Linked DNA regions of Homo sapiens: region 2 is linked to region 1. The links are contacts of gene promoters, found by promoter capture Hi-C in blood cells and fetal thymus (Javierre and others, 2016). All regions are on one chromosome and are shown on one strand. The core of a region is centred on a gene start or on the middle of the fragment in contact, and the rest is flanking DNA. Distances in the headings are between cores, read along the strand shown. Region 1 holds the start of PAX8-AS1 (PAX8 antisense RNA 1). Region 2 overlaps LINC02966 (long intergenic non-protein coding RNA 2966).

Region 1 (6,823 bases), core at 246-2,745:
TCCCAAACTGCTGGAATTACAGGGGTGAGCCACCTCGCCCGGTCGGTGCTTCCAGCTTTAAATATTTTGAGGCAGTTGAGGTTCCTGATGGGAGGTCCCCCACTCCTCTCAAGTTGTTGAATCACTGAATTTATCATGTTTAACAGATGTCTGACTGTCCTCCCGGTGATGCTGTTAAGCTAGGAATGAAGATAGCTGCATCATGGAAACACAACTGGGACTGACCCTTGGCCTTTTTAGAAATTTGATCCAGAAATGGGCTCCAAAAGCCAATTCCTTTTTCCCTCCAAAATGTTCATTTTTCCTTCTATCTATTTATGCATTTACCAAGGCCAAGTTGCTACGTTACAGCACCCGGCTCCCGGCCTTAGGGTTCCTGCTTTTCCATGGGGTCTTGGGGTGGTGCATCCCCGGCACCCCTACAGCATCCGCCCCTTCCGAGCATGTCTTCCCCGTCACAGAGAACTTCATGTTGGCGCCTCCAAAAGTTGCCGGAGGAATTAGGGAACAGGGTGGGGGTGGATGAGACTGAGGCCAGAGAGGGGGCTGGCGGTCTGCCCTGAGGACCCCCGTCCCACCCGCCGCCATAGCTGCATGGCCCCGGGACCTCCCTGTCGTACCTGAGAGGAGGGCCTGGCCCGTGAACTGCCCGTACACGGAGGCAGCATGGGGAAAGGCATTGAAGGGCGGGACCCCGGAGCCGACTTGCTGCAGATCCAAAAAGGCGGAGCTAGATAAAGAGGAAGGGGTGGAGCTAGAACTGGACACCTCGGGGGTTTCCTGCTTTATGGCGAAGGGTGAGTGAGGATCTGCCGGAGGGAGGGAGACAACAAGGAGAGAGGGGTGTGAGATGGCGGGGAGGGAACACGCACAAGCCAAGCCGTGGGATGTGGAGGGTGCGGGCGGGGCGCGGGGCAGGCTCAGCTGCCCTCAGAGTCTGGGCTGGGGAGAGCCGGGGCCCACGAGGCGTGGCAAGGCGGGGAGAGAGAAGCTAGACCTCCCTGCTGCGCTTCTGCAGCGAAAATGGAGAGACCCGGAAGGCGTGTGTGCGCCCGCCTCTCCCACAGGAGGGAGCGCGGAGACCCGGGAGCGGCCTAGGACCGGAGGCGCGACCCCTCGGCCCACCTTGAGGCCCGGCCTAGGACCGGAGGCGCGACCCCTGGGCCCACCTTGAGGCCCGGCCTAGGACTGGAGGCGCGACCCCTCGGCCCACCTTGCGGGAGCCGCCTAGGACCGGAGGCGCGACCCCTCGGCCCAGCTTGAGGCCCGGCCTAGGACCGGAGGCGCGACCCCTCGGCCCACCTTGCGGGAGCCGCCTAGGACCGGAGGCGCGACCCCTCGGCCCACCTTGAGGCCCGGCCTAGGACCGGAGGCGCGACCCCTGGGCCCACCTTGAGGCCCGGCCTAGGACTGGAGGCGCGACCCCTCGGCCCACCTTACGGGAGCCGCCTAGGGCCGGAGGCGCGACCCCTCGGCCCAGCTTGAGGCCCGGCCTAGGACCGGAGGCGCGACCCCTCGGCCCACCTTGAGGCCCGGCCTAGGACTGGAGGCGCGACCCCTCGGCCCACCTTGAGGCCCGGCCTAGGACCGGAGGCGCGACCCCTGGGCCCACCTTGAGGCCCGGCCTAGGACTGGAGGCGCGACCCCTCGGCCCACCTTGAGGCCCGGCCTAGGACCGGAGGCGCGACCCCTGGGCCCACCTGGCGGCCCGGCCGGCACAGCCCGCCTCTCCTCTCCAGGCCAGGGCCCCACACCTTCCGCCTGACAGCCAGCCAAGCTCTTCAGTCCCCCGCCCTCCACCTGCCAGGGAGGCTCCGGGCGTTGTACCTGCCACCACGGGGTAGGTCTGGTGAGTCGAGAGGTTGCGCCCCAGTGGCGTGTTGGAAGGGGTCAGGGTGGCCTTCCCGTCGTCCAGGGTGCTGTTGAGCAAGGGCAGCGGGTAGAGGCCCTGGGGAGCAAAGAGAAGTCAGCGCACAGAGACGATCCAACAAGCCGACCTTCCTGCAGACCCTGAGCCTGTGTCTTAGGACTTGGCAGCCCTCATCTCCCCAGGAGAGGTCCTCATCGCCCCCTTCTTCCTTTACGTTCTCAACTCCACTCGGCACGTTTCGTTCATGCTCATTGTCCTCCCGCATCCCTGGAATTCAAGGCCAGCTGGTAGCATGGGTGCCCAGACGTGGGATAGAGAGTCTCAGCCAGAGGACCACACCCTGGTTGGATGGCTGGTCGGCTTCCTGGTTTCACCACACTGTTGGGACCCACAGAATGCAGGACGGTGCCAAGGACTGGAGCAGTCTCCAACCGGACTGTTCAGGGTCCTTGCATCTGTTAATTTATTCTTCCCCAGATAGGAAACCCAGGCACAAAGGTTTAAGAAACTTGTCCCACTTCCAGATGGGCCAAAGATAGGATTCAGATTCGAGGGATCAGAATGTGTCTGCTCTCAACCACTGCCCTAAACTGGGTGACATAAGGACCACTTCTTACATTTGCAAAGAGCTTATATCAGAGCTTTGCCTCTGTTGTCCTAGTAGAGTCCCCCAGCAGCCCAGTGACATGGGTGAGTAATATTATGTCTGTGTTTTATATGTGGAGCCTGGAACTCAGGTAAATGGCCCAATTTTGTATAGTGAAACAGACTAAACCCGGGATTTTTCGGCTGTGGACCCAGGTGCTTTACCCACCACGTGGATTTCTTCTTTTCTCTCTCCACATCCAAACAAATAGAAGTGTGCAAGTTCGGCTTGAAAATGGTATTGAGAGTTGTTTTTGTTGGAAACACTCTTTGTCAAGTACCTGGGGGTCTTCATCAGTAAGACCTCATTTTAGATGCCTCCTGGCCTCCCCTTCCCAGGAGCACAGCTATGACCTTAGGTACTCCTTCCGAAAAGAACTTGTTTAACTAAAGGTAAGTGTACCTCATCCTCACCATGGCCTCCTTCCACTGGGGAAGCAGATAGCGCAGAAAAAAGAACACACCCATTCCCCACATACCTTCACACTCGTCACATACCTGCTACGTGAGATGTGCAAAGCTGAATTCAGGGAATGCTCAGTAGTTACATAACAGTGCCACTAAAGGCAATTGTTTTCAGTGATTTCCATCGAGCTGGGTTCTGCAAAGATCCACAGCACTTTCCGGTTGCATGCTGGGCACTTTTGGAAGCTGCAGTCAATTCTGGAGGCCACCAGGGCACCATTAGCACATAGCAGCAATTATTGACTAAATGGTGCTCTGGTTCCATGCCTTCCAAGGGGGCCCACTTAGAGGCAGGGTGGAGTTGCTTAGGGCCTTTTTTTTTTTTTTTTTTTGTAGACGGAGTTTTGCTCTTGTTGCCCAAGCTGGAGTGCAATGGTGCGATCTTCGCTTACTGCAACCTCTGCTTCCTGGGTTCAAGTGATTCCCCTGCCTCAGCCTCCCGAGTAGCAGGGATTACAGGTGCGTGCTACCATGCCAGGCTAATTTTTTGTATCTTTAGTAGAGACAGGAGTTTCACCATGTTGGCCAGGCTAGTCTTAAACTCCTGACCTCATGATCTGCCTGGCTTGACCTCCCAAAGTGTTGGGATTACAGGCATGAGCCGTTGCACCTGGCCAGGGTGTGTCTTATTGAAATTGAACAAAATACCTAATTTCTAGAGCGTATAAGAGAAGTTTAAAATGCTTTATGGATGTGTTGTTTTGACAGCAAAATATCTACTCAGAATCCTATAGCTATTTCAAAATCCAAGTAACTTAGAAAAAAAGGAAAAAGAAAACCTATATAGTCAAATCTTTTGGTGATTTTGTATTCAATGACTGAAACTTCCCAGTGATTATTGGGCTTTTTAGCTGGAATTGAACTTGAATCGGGGCAGAGCAGCACAATGCTTCAGAACTTCAGCGACTCTGAGCCCTGGTTCTGCAATGACCTGCCAAGTAGCTTTAGTCTACTTGACTGCTCTGAACCTTAATTTTCTCACCTGTATGGGAATCATAGACTCTACTTTATGAGGCTGACGTAAGCATTACATGAAATTTTGTATACTTATACATAATGTGCTTAGCACCGAATACTTGGTGACAGCAGATGCCCAATGAGAGTTATCACAGATATTATTTCAGAATCGTGAAGAGTCAGAAGCCACCAAATTCTTGATTTCTGTCAATAAACTGATATTCATATTCTGTTGATTTTTTTTGATGCATTTGTAAAATAGGGAAACAAGAGCTGTATGACTTCTAGCTATGTCTGGTCATGAAATAGCAACCAGGAATAAGGCCACATGATGTTTCTGATGAACACTTCCCCCTGCCCTTTTTTTTTTTTTTTCAGATGGAGCCTCGCTCTGTCACCCAGGCTGGAGTGCAGTGGCACAATCTCGGGTCACTGCAACCTCCGCCCCCCAGCTTCAAGCGATTCTCCTGTCTCAGCCTCCCGAGTAGCTAGGATTACAGGTGCACGCCACCAGGCCTGGCTAATTTTTATATTTTTAGTAGAGATGGGATTTTGCCTTGTTGGCCAGGCTGGTCTCAAACTCCTGACCTCAGGTGACCCATCCACCTTGGCCTCCCAAAGTGCTGGGACTACAGGTGTGAGCCACCATGCCTGGTCCCCCACTTGTTGATTTTGCAGAAAAGATAGCTGTGTTACAACCTGTCCTAAGGTCAGGTATGAATACTTGTGCTTCTTTCTTGGCTCCCCAAGCCAGAGGGCATTCCTATGCCCAGGTGAGAGAGCACGGAGTGTTACTTTGGCAGCACAGTCAGTTACCAGAGGTAGGAAAAGCAAAGGCCAGGCAGGACATGAGGGGCCCTTGCACTGGCTGGTTCTCCCTGCCTTCACCACCCTCCAGGTGAATGACTGGGTGAATAATGATTGACTGAGGAGGTAATGAATAATTTATGGACACTGCTGGACCTCAGTCTCCTCATCTGAAAGATGAGTGGTTGGAGAAGTTTAATGGTTTTCAAATGCTTTTTTTTTCAGTCTTCAAATAAGTGTTTACGTAGAAGCACCATATCTGAAACAGGTGACAGTGGACCAGTCTGAATGAAATGAGGGTTGGCAGGCCTGAGCTCCAAAACCTTCTGATTGCCCAAGCCCTCCTTGTCTTGCTTGGATTATCTCCACACAAATGGAGAAACTGGACAAGGTGGTCATGGAGGTCCCTGAAAGCTCAAAGACTTTCTCATTCCAGGATTCCCCATGTTCATATGCCAGCATGGCATGGGGGTGCTCTGTAGTCAAGCAGGGTCCTTTGGGGGGCTTAGGGATGGAGCCAGGAAATGGCTCTGGGACTCAGCGGGTGTCCAGAGTCTCATCAGCAGGGTTTCTTTACTTTCACTGAGTGGCTGGTGCCTGCACACTGAGTTTTGCAGGCTTACTCTCACAGAGTGAGCTTCCTGCAGGCCCCCCACTGCAACCCCTTTCCTTCCTGGAGCTGTGTGCTGACTGGTGCGTGAGCACCCCAGGCCCTCTCCCCATGCTGCTGATGGTCAGCTTTCTCTGCACGCTCGTGGTTGCCACAGTCAACGCTGATAAAATTGCTGATGCAGATTGCCTGCCCAGCTGCGAGTGCTGGCACGGGACCAGCAGCCCAGACGGTCACTGGAAGTGGTTGGGCTGATTATTGGCATCATCTCCATTGTCCTACTCGGTTCTTAAAGGCATATGGACTTGCCTCACTCCTACAGCAAATGACGGCATGGGCAAAGAGGGGCAACAGACCCACCCTGAAGACACTCCTCATCTGGTTGACTTGGCAGGGTTAAGGGAAAAAGATGTGATGACTAGGAGCTGAGAGCTTAGTGGTTCTGCCAGAGCTGCAGAGTCTTTGTTGGCCTCAGGGTGGGACCTCTCACATCTCTGTCAGCTTTTCACGGACACCAACCTGTTATGATTCATTTCACCTGTCCTGAGCACTAGCAAGAAAAATTCGCTGTAGCTTGTGATGTATTATTCTGGATTTCTCAACTCATTCATTTGTTCATTCATTCACTATACCATTACTGTCTATTATAAGGGGGGCACAATGGTAGGTGCTGGGAATAAAAACGATGTTTAACGTTTCATGAGGCTTCCCTGTCCTTAAGGAGTCCGCGTGTCTTTGTACCTGTCTGTCTGCTAGATTATTAAGTGACACTGTGAGAAGCTACTGAGAGCAGCATGTGGGACATGCAGAAGGGCAAGAGGCAGGAGAGATGATTCATGTCGGAGGGGCAGGGGAGGACTGACGGAGAGGGTGATGTTTGGCTGAGTCATGAAGGCTAGTGGTATTTTTCCATGCAGAGAAGTGGGAGGAAAGGCATTCTGTGTGGAGGGCACACAGTGTGCAAGGGCAGAGAGGTGTGAGCGAGGGTGGTGAGCTCGGGGCCATGAGTAATGCAAGAGCATGGGGTGTGCAGGATGAGTGGCCAAAGGTGGGGCTAGGAAATAGTGGCTGAGGTCATTATGTGAAGGCTTTGTGCTACTGCTTCAGAGTTGTGGAACGTGATGTTGCAATCTGGGAAAGACGCTGATGGCAAGGGATAGCATCATCAGGTTGTGCTGCCATCCCTGAAAGGCCCAGGCTCAAAGGTTTTGGGTGAAGGAAGCCAGGAGGGTTAGAAAGGGAGGAAGATGCCAGGGCATCTGGTAAAATAAAGCATGTGTCAGGCTTGGAGTTGCATAAGGCAGGTGCCCTGAGCCCATTGATGCAACTTCCAGCTGCTTTGATGGAGCACAGGCTCATTTGGAGAATAGACCTTCTCTGGCCCTTGCCCACCCTGTTCACCTCCCAGGGCCCAGCTTCTCACCTGCTCGCCTTTGGTGTGGCTGGGGGAGGCATAGGCCTCTGGGTAG
Region 2 (6,977 bases), core at 2,764-5,263, 120 kb after region 1:
TACTAAAAATACAAAAAATTAGCCGGGTGTAGTGGCAGGCGCCTGTGGTCCCAGCTACTCGGGTGGCTGAGGCAGGAGAATGGCGCAAACCCAGGAGGTGGAGCTTGCAGTGAGCTGAGATAGCGCCACTGCACTCCAGCTTGGGTGACAGAGTGAGATTCCTTCTCAAAAAAACCAAAAAAAAAACAAAAAAAAACAAAAAAACTCTTGTACCCAGTATCTTCTCTCCAACACCATCCATTTCTCCCTTCTTCAAACATTTTAGTGCTTCTATAGCCAATGATAGATTTCAAACATCTTAAGTTGCACCCAAAATCCTTCACATTCTGGCCAATTTTCTTCTATAGCTTTCTGGAAGTATAATTTTATGCAATAACATTCATCTATTTTAAATATACTGTTTGGTGAGTGTGAGAATATGAACACAGCTGTGCAAATTTCACCACAATCAGGATTAGTTCATTTCTATTACTTCCCTGTGTCCCCGGGAACAAATAATGTTCCCACTGTTTCAACCCACTTCCTGCCATCTGTTGTCCCATACAGCCACTAGTCTGCTTTCTGTCACTACAGTTTTTCATTTTCTAGAATTTCTTATAAATAGAATCTAACAGTATACAGTTTTTTATGTCTGGACTTTTTACTTAGCATGATGCCTTTGAGATTAATCTATGTTGTTGCATACGCCAGTAGTTCTTTCCTTTTTATCGCTGAGTAGTATTCAATTGCATTGATGTAGACATTTGAGTTATTTCCAGTTTTTGGCGATTATGAATAAGGCTCACATGAACATTCATGTACAAGTCTTTGTATGAACAAACAGATGATGACTCCACTTATCCCACAAGCAATACAGGACATGCCCACTTTACATTTCTTCCCATTCAAGTCATTGTAATAAAGATTTATTATTCCTTGTGCTAGACATCGTGTAGGAATACAGACACAGTTAAGCCCCATGGATATTACAATATAGTGAGAGAAATAGACGCACACATGGGTCGTTCACATGCAAAGCAGATCACCAAGATAGAGGAACCAACAACAAGGGGACAGGGAGAGAGCACACTGACTGAGGGGACGGGGGAAATCAGGAAGGATTGCTTAGAGGAGGCAGAAGCAGTGTGAATAAAGACCTGGAGGAAAGAAGGCAGGACTTGTTTGAGGGCTGACAAATACCCATGTTAAATTCTATCTCACTTGGCCAGCCATCCTTGTAAAGCCATTGTAAGTGCTTGTCCTCCTCAAAACTTCTGCAATGTACTCTTCATACTGCCAATCAGCTTTCCTTGTCAGGAGAGGGAATTTTTCAGCCTACTTTGCAAATAAAGCTATATCCCAACACGGTCTGAGCCCAAGAGCCAAACATTTGATCCAAGGGGTGGATGGTGGTATCCTCAAATGTGGCCCGAGGAGAGGCTGGGATACTGGAGAACAGGTCTACACTAATTGGAAAGCCAGCCAAAGGGAGGAGCAGGTCCAGAGCAGGCAGGAGCAGTCCTCATCCTGGGCAGCTGGTGCACGTGTACACAGGTGTCTCTTCAAATTCATTGTCTATGGCAAAGAGATGTCAACTCCTCATGGATGAATGAATGAATGAACATATGTCACCAGTAGGCTCTCATATGTGTTCCAGTATATTATACATTCAATCTGGATCAATCAGATGTGCAGACACTTGAACAACCTACAGTTCTCACTTGCTGCTTTCTGGTTAAGTGCTCAGCAGTCCACATGCGGAGTTGAATGTCTAAGAAAATAATTTCTTTGCGTTCTGATGCTGTAAAATATTGTTTGGATTAAAAGGGCAGGAACAAATTGATGGATCTGAAAGTTTTTTTTCTTTTGGCTTGGCGATGACAGGGCAATCCATCAGACAACTTCCTTGGCTCCCTGTGACATTTCAAGCTCAAATGTTATAGCTTTCTTATTTTTTCTTTTCTCTTTTTTTTTTCACCCCCAGCTCTCTATTGAACTGTGCCTCCAGGAAATGCATGCTGTTGATATGAGTTCCATGACACTTGTCATACAGGAGGCACTCGGTAGAGGCTTGTGGAATAATGGCTGGGAGTACTCAGGTTAGCTTAGCAGGTTGTGCCAAAGATGAGGTAACTCCTTAACCCACCTATGATGCTGCCTCCATCTGTGCCCTAGAGCATGCAGCAAAGAGTTCTTTCAAAATAGAGCAGGCTCCAGACAATGTTCAATGATGCAGCTGCCCACAGAATGTGATTTCAGCATCTGGATTATATGCAGAGAGAAAACATGAGAAGTCAGAATGCTTGGAATTTCACCTGGATCTGCCACCATGCATAATGTGAATTTGGAAATGCTACTTAACTTCTCCAAGACACAGCTTATGAATCTTTGAGCCAGAGAAAATAAGTAAGTGTAAGAATCAGATGAGGTAATGACTGTGGATATAGTATAAAAATACGGAAAGTAATTAGAAATGAAATACACCCTCTGTAGTAGTTATCTGTTGATGTATAACAAACAACCCCAAACTTGGGTGAATTGAAACAACAATCATTTATTAATTATCTCATAGTATAATGGGTCAGAAATCTGGGAGTGGTGTAACTGGGAGTCTGCTCACAGGCTCTCAAGACGTTGGCTGGAACCACATCATCTGAAGGTTTGACTGGGGCTGGAGAATCATCTCCCAAGATGGGTCACTCATGTGGCTGTTGGCAGGAAGTCTTAGTTCCTTGCTGACTGTTGTCAGGAGGCTGCAGTTACTCTCCATGGAAGCTTCTTCCTAAGACTGTTTGAGTGTCCTCACCACAGGGAAGCTGGCTTCCCACAGAGTGAGTGATCCAAGGCAGATGTCATTATGTGCTTTATGACACAGGTGCAGAAGTCAAACACTGTGATCACCTCAATACCCTATTGGTTCTCCAGGTCACCCCTATTCAGTCTGGGAGGAGACTACACAAGGATATGATTTCCAGGAGATGGGGATCACTGTGAGCCATGCTGGAGGCTAACCTCCACATCCTCTCTCAGTTTAAATGGTTCCACTGGGAAATAAGCGATATAGTTGATTACCGCTGAGGTCCTCCCCTTTTAACCACATCCCTGCTTGCTCCAATTAGCCCTCCCTCAAGCCCGCTATGTGTTGCTCTCCTTTCCCTTCTTGCTGAAAATTCCTGCTGTCATTGTCAGTCCCTTGTTTCATACTAAAATTCAGTTTTAGTCTCTAACGGGTCTCTGTGGAAATGTCTGTGTGTAGCATCTGAAGGAAGTCTCTGGTGCTCTTGTCTTATGGTGCCAGCCTCATTGGTTTGTCATTCTTTTGCTGGTGCAGCCCATTGCAATTTGCATGGTGCCATCACATGCTCATGTGAGACGGGGTCCCTCCTTTGAGAGTCAATAACGAGGTGACCAATGTTGGCAGTGAGTGAGCATGCTCTGGTCTCTGTCTTCCTCACATTTGTTATTTTCCAATGTGTGTTTCTGTCTGGGTTCTCACCTGACTCTGGCAGCCCAGGTAGACAGAGCAGGCATTGCTCCCTCCATTTTGTGGGTTGAAAAACTAAGGCTCAGAAAGTCCTAACCGAGGCATTTTCTGGAATTGGGAACACAGGAAGGAAACATATTGGGTGGTTAAAACACGGAGTTTGGCTTTAAACCTCTTGCACTTGAGGTGTCTGTGGCGTATTCGTGAAGTTAATGTGCAGCCTTGAATACAGCTTATAGATGATTAACTGGGCATGGAACGAGATCTCATATCCTGATTATTTTGCTTTATCTGTACATTTCTCCACTCCTTCCAGCTGTTGTAGTGTGTTCTGTCTTCTTGATCCCAGACGTCCTGGCTTGGTTTTTCTCAAGGCCATCCTCCTTAGCCTCACCAACCTCATTGGCCTGGTTGCACACAGCTTCGAGTGCCCACAGACCAACTGAAGGGGAGCTGCTGTCTGCTGGGGAGGGTTCTAGTGGAGGAGTCTGTGGGTCCCTGTGAAGAGAGTCTGGGAGAGGGTGCAACAGCATACGGGCTTCACCATCCATTAGCAAAAGCAGAGGCTTTTAAAACACAGTCCATCCATCCAAATGGACCTTCATGTCTATTTCCATAAGGTCCTGAGGCCCAGGCCCACCTTTACCACTAGTTAGCTGAGAAGTACTAGGGCTGAAGGTACTGATCCGGTGCTTGCTGGAGCCTGCCACACTGTCCCCACCCTACCTGTGTCAGCTTAGTCTGCAACCCCAGTCAACTCTGTTTTCTTCCACCTTGAAAACTCTTTGAAAGAACACAAGAAGTGGGGGTCCCTGAGGGCCGGGCACCCCTCATGTTCAGGCCCACAGGCCATTTAGGCAGCTGCTTCTCCAACCTTATCTTCCTTCTGCCTCCATGGAAACCTGAGAAAGACGGAAAGGGGGAAGCGGCTGTGCTTTCCCAACACAAATAACCCCACAGAGCTTTCTCAGCAGTGACCCTTAGCCTGTTGTGTCAGCCTCAGGCTGAGGGAGGAAGGAAATAGACCTTCTATTGAGTATTTTTCTTCCCCTGTCAAGAAGATCAGAGGAACTAAGAGGGAAAGAAAAGGAGTCAAAAGCACCTTGTGGCCTCCTCCTGCAGGATTTGTGTTGCTCTTCCCCTCCCCTCTTGAACTCTAAGTAAACAAACTCCCCAGCCAAGGAAGGCCCCAGGCCCAACTCCAAGCAGGCCATAAATAAGAGCCCTTCAGCCTTTCACTCTCTGGCAAGTCGGGAAGGCCCTTCTGAGTGGAACATTTGATAGCGGGGGAGTGCTGGGGGGAGAGTCCTTGTGTTAATTGAATCCCAATTTCCTTCTCCCAGGCCCACTCTTATCTTTTTAATTATACGAAGCCTTTAATCTTCCCAGGACCTGTCTCTGTCATTAATGCGTGATCCTATTAGAGATAGGGGTTTGCTCAGGGGTAATGGGAGCCGCAAGCAGAGGCCTTTGGCAACTTTTTTGCTTTCTAAAGCACCCAGAGTTACCTGGGGCTGAGGCAGGGAGACATTTTGGGCTCCCCTCAGCTCTCAGATGGAGTTCCTTGGGCCATCTGTGTTTAAACCGTGTCTGAGATTAGACTCTTATGGTCAGTATCTGTTGTGGCCCTGAAACTGCAGAGTAGCTCCGTCTAGCAGCTAAGGGGCAGATGAGTTCAGGCAACCTGCTTAGGAAAAAAATCAGACGAATTGTACTCGCAGGATGCTGGGTGCCCAGGTGGGATTCCAGAAGGAGTTGAGGCATTGTGCATTTCCTAAATGCTAGAGCATACCTTTGGTGCTGGTGAATAAAGCTTATGTTCTCACGGGCTTTCCCTAACGCTGCAGAGATGCATTACCTCCAGGTGACAATGGCTTGGGACACTCCAGGGTTACCTTTCTCTTCAACCCCAGCTGCCTTGTCAAAGGCCTAATGAGCTGTAAACCAATACTTAGGAATGCAAAGGCCACACCCTACTTGAAGGGGTTTGGCTCATATTAAGTGTTCAATAAGTGTTTGCTAAATAACTTTTAAAACAAGAATTCCAAGAGCCATTCACTTTAGAATATGAATTCGCAGGTATTTATTGCGATTACTGCTTCTCATTTACGGCTCAATTCTACTGGACTTTTTTTTTTCTGGGCTACAAGGTGGCCTGTAGGGTCCCTTCAGCAAGGTAGTCTGGTATTTCACACATCCCTAGGTGTACAGAAAGATGGGTAAAGCTGAGTCCCTGCAAGGGGCCTCATGCTCAGTTAGGAAGATAAATTTTGTTAGTTTTCAATACATAAATATATGTGTATATATGTATACGTGTATATAAGTCAATATATAGATATATATAGTATACAACTGTATATACAATTACATATGCATGTATATGTGTGTGTGTATATTTGTGAATTGTCTTCAGAGACTTCGGCTATGATTTCAACTACATATATATGTACACACATATATACTATACATATACACACATATATGTACATATATACATACATTTATATATACACACACACAAATATGTATAGTTGAAATCGCAGCTGGCTTCTCTGAAGATGGGAGTCCATACACAGAACACCGTCAGCAAACTGTATACCTGAATGAGTAAATATTCAGATTCTGCACTGAACATCGTGTCTTGTCATCTCCCTGACTCATTATGCACAACCACTTTAGGGTCTGTAGCAGAGATGCTGTCACTGACAAAGGTCACATATCTAGAAGGTGTGAGAGTCTGGATTCTAACCCAGGTCTGATCACAAAGCCCAGCCCTCAACCCCAGAGCTCCATAGTCAAAATGTTTCTCTTTGCTTGCAACCACAGTGTCTGCTCCTGAAAGTGTGTAGGTCTGGTCACAGGCTCTTGTGAAGACATAATGATCCTGGACATGGTCCAGAGAAGAGCAATTAAAACACTCAAGGGGAAGAAAAGGCTTCTGTTTGAGGACAGATTTTTAAAAAGCAGTAAAATCTGAAAAAAGGCAGAGTGAGCAGGGCATGATGGAAATCTCTAGGATGTGGAGAGAACCAAGAGGGAGACAGCCTGCCTGCCAAGGTGGCACTCACTGAAGCTTACAACCAGCAGTTTTAGGACAATGACAAGAAAGTTCTACTTACCACGTTCCATAAGTTTGCTGCCTGCTGTGTGATCCCAAGAGGTGGCACAGGCTGAAAATATAAATAGAATCCCATCCTATGAACATATTGCTGTGAGCTCCCTACAGAACGCCTGGCTTCCCATTGTCAAATTCAAGCTCTCAGTTTCTAATGGTTGAAACCAGGAGTGAGCAAACATTTTCTGTAAAAGATCAGAGTAAATATTTCTGGCTTTGTGGATCAACACTGCCCTAAATGCTCAACTCTGCCATTGTAGTACAAAAGTAGCCATAGACAGTACCTATGAATGAGCATGACTGGGTTCTATTAACATGCTATTTACACAATTAGCAAGGCCCAGATTTGACCAGCAAGCTGTAGTTTGCCAACACTTGGTCTACACCAATTCACAGTTG

What was found. The method cuts DNA at HindIII sites, captures the fragments that hold promoters and counts their contacts. A CHiCAGO score of 5 or more calls a contact.
Region 2: a contact is called between a fragment that was not itself captured here and the fragment with the promoter of PAX8-AS1 in region 1, in 1 of 17 cell types (naive CD8 T cells). The highest score is 5.6, in naive CD8 T cells.

What each region holds. Positions count from the first base shown.
Region 1 is chr2:113,234,774-113,241,596 of GRCh38, forward strand. It overlaps PAX8-AS1 (PAX8 antisense RNA 1), which reads left to right and starts at 1,496. Exons shown (of 6, transcript NR_015377.2): 1 at 1,496-1,849. PAX8 (paired box 8) reads right to left here. Exons shown (of 12, transcript NM_003466.4): 7 at 6,778-6,823; 8 at 1,828-1,948; 9 at 621-809. RefSeq lists enhancers at 393-582, 6,147-6,823 and a silencer at 833-912. The HindIII fragment of the contact is 8,895 bases long and covers 1-6,823 here.
Region 2 is chr2:113,351,094-113,358,070 of GRCh38, forward strand. All of the region lies in intron 2 of LINC02966 (long intergenic non-protein coding RNA 2966), which reads left to right. LOC124906070 (a long non-coding RNA gene) reads right to left here. Exons shown (of 3, transcript XR_007087202.1): 2 at 6,583-6,633; 3 at 4,282-4,365. Among named protein-coding and RNA genes, the nearest start is that of LINC02966, 30 kb to the left of the region's middle. The HindIII fragment of the contact is 2,522 bases long and covers 2,753-5,274 here.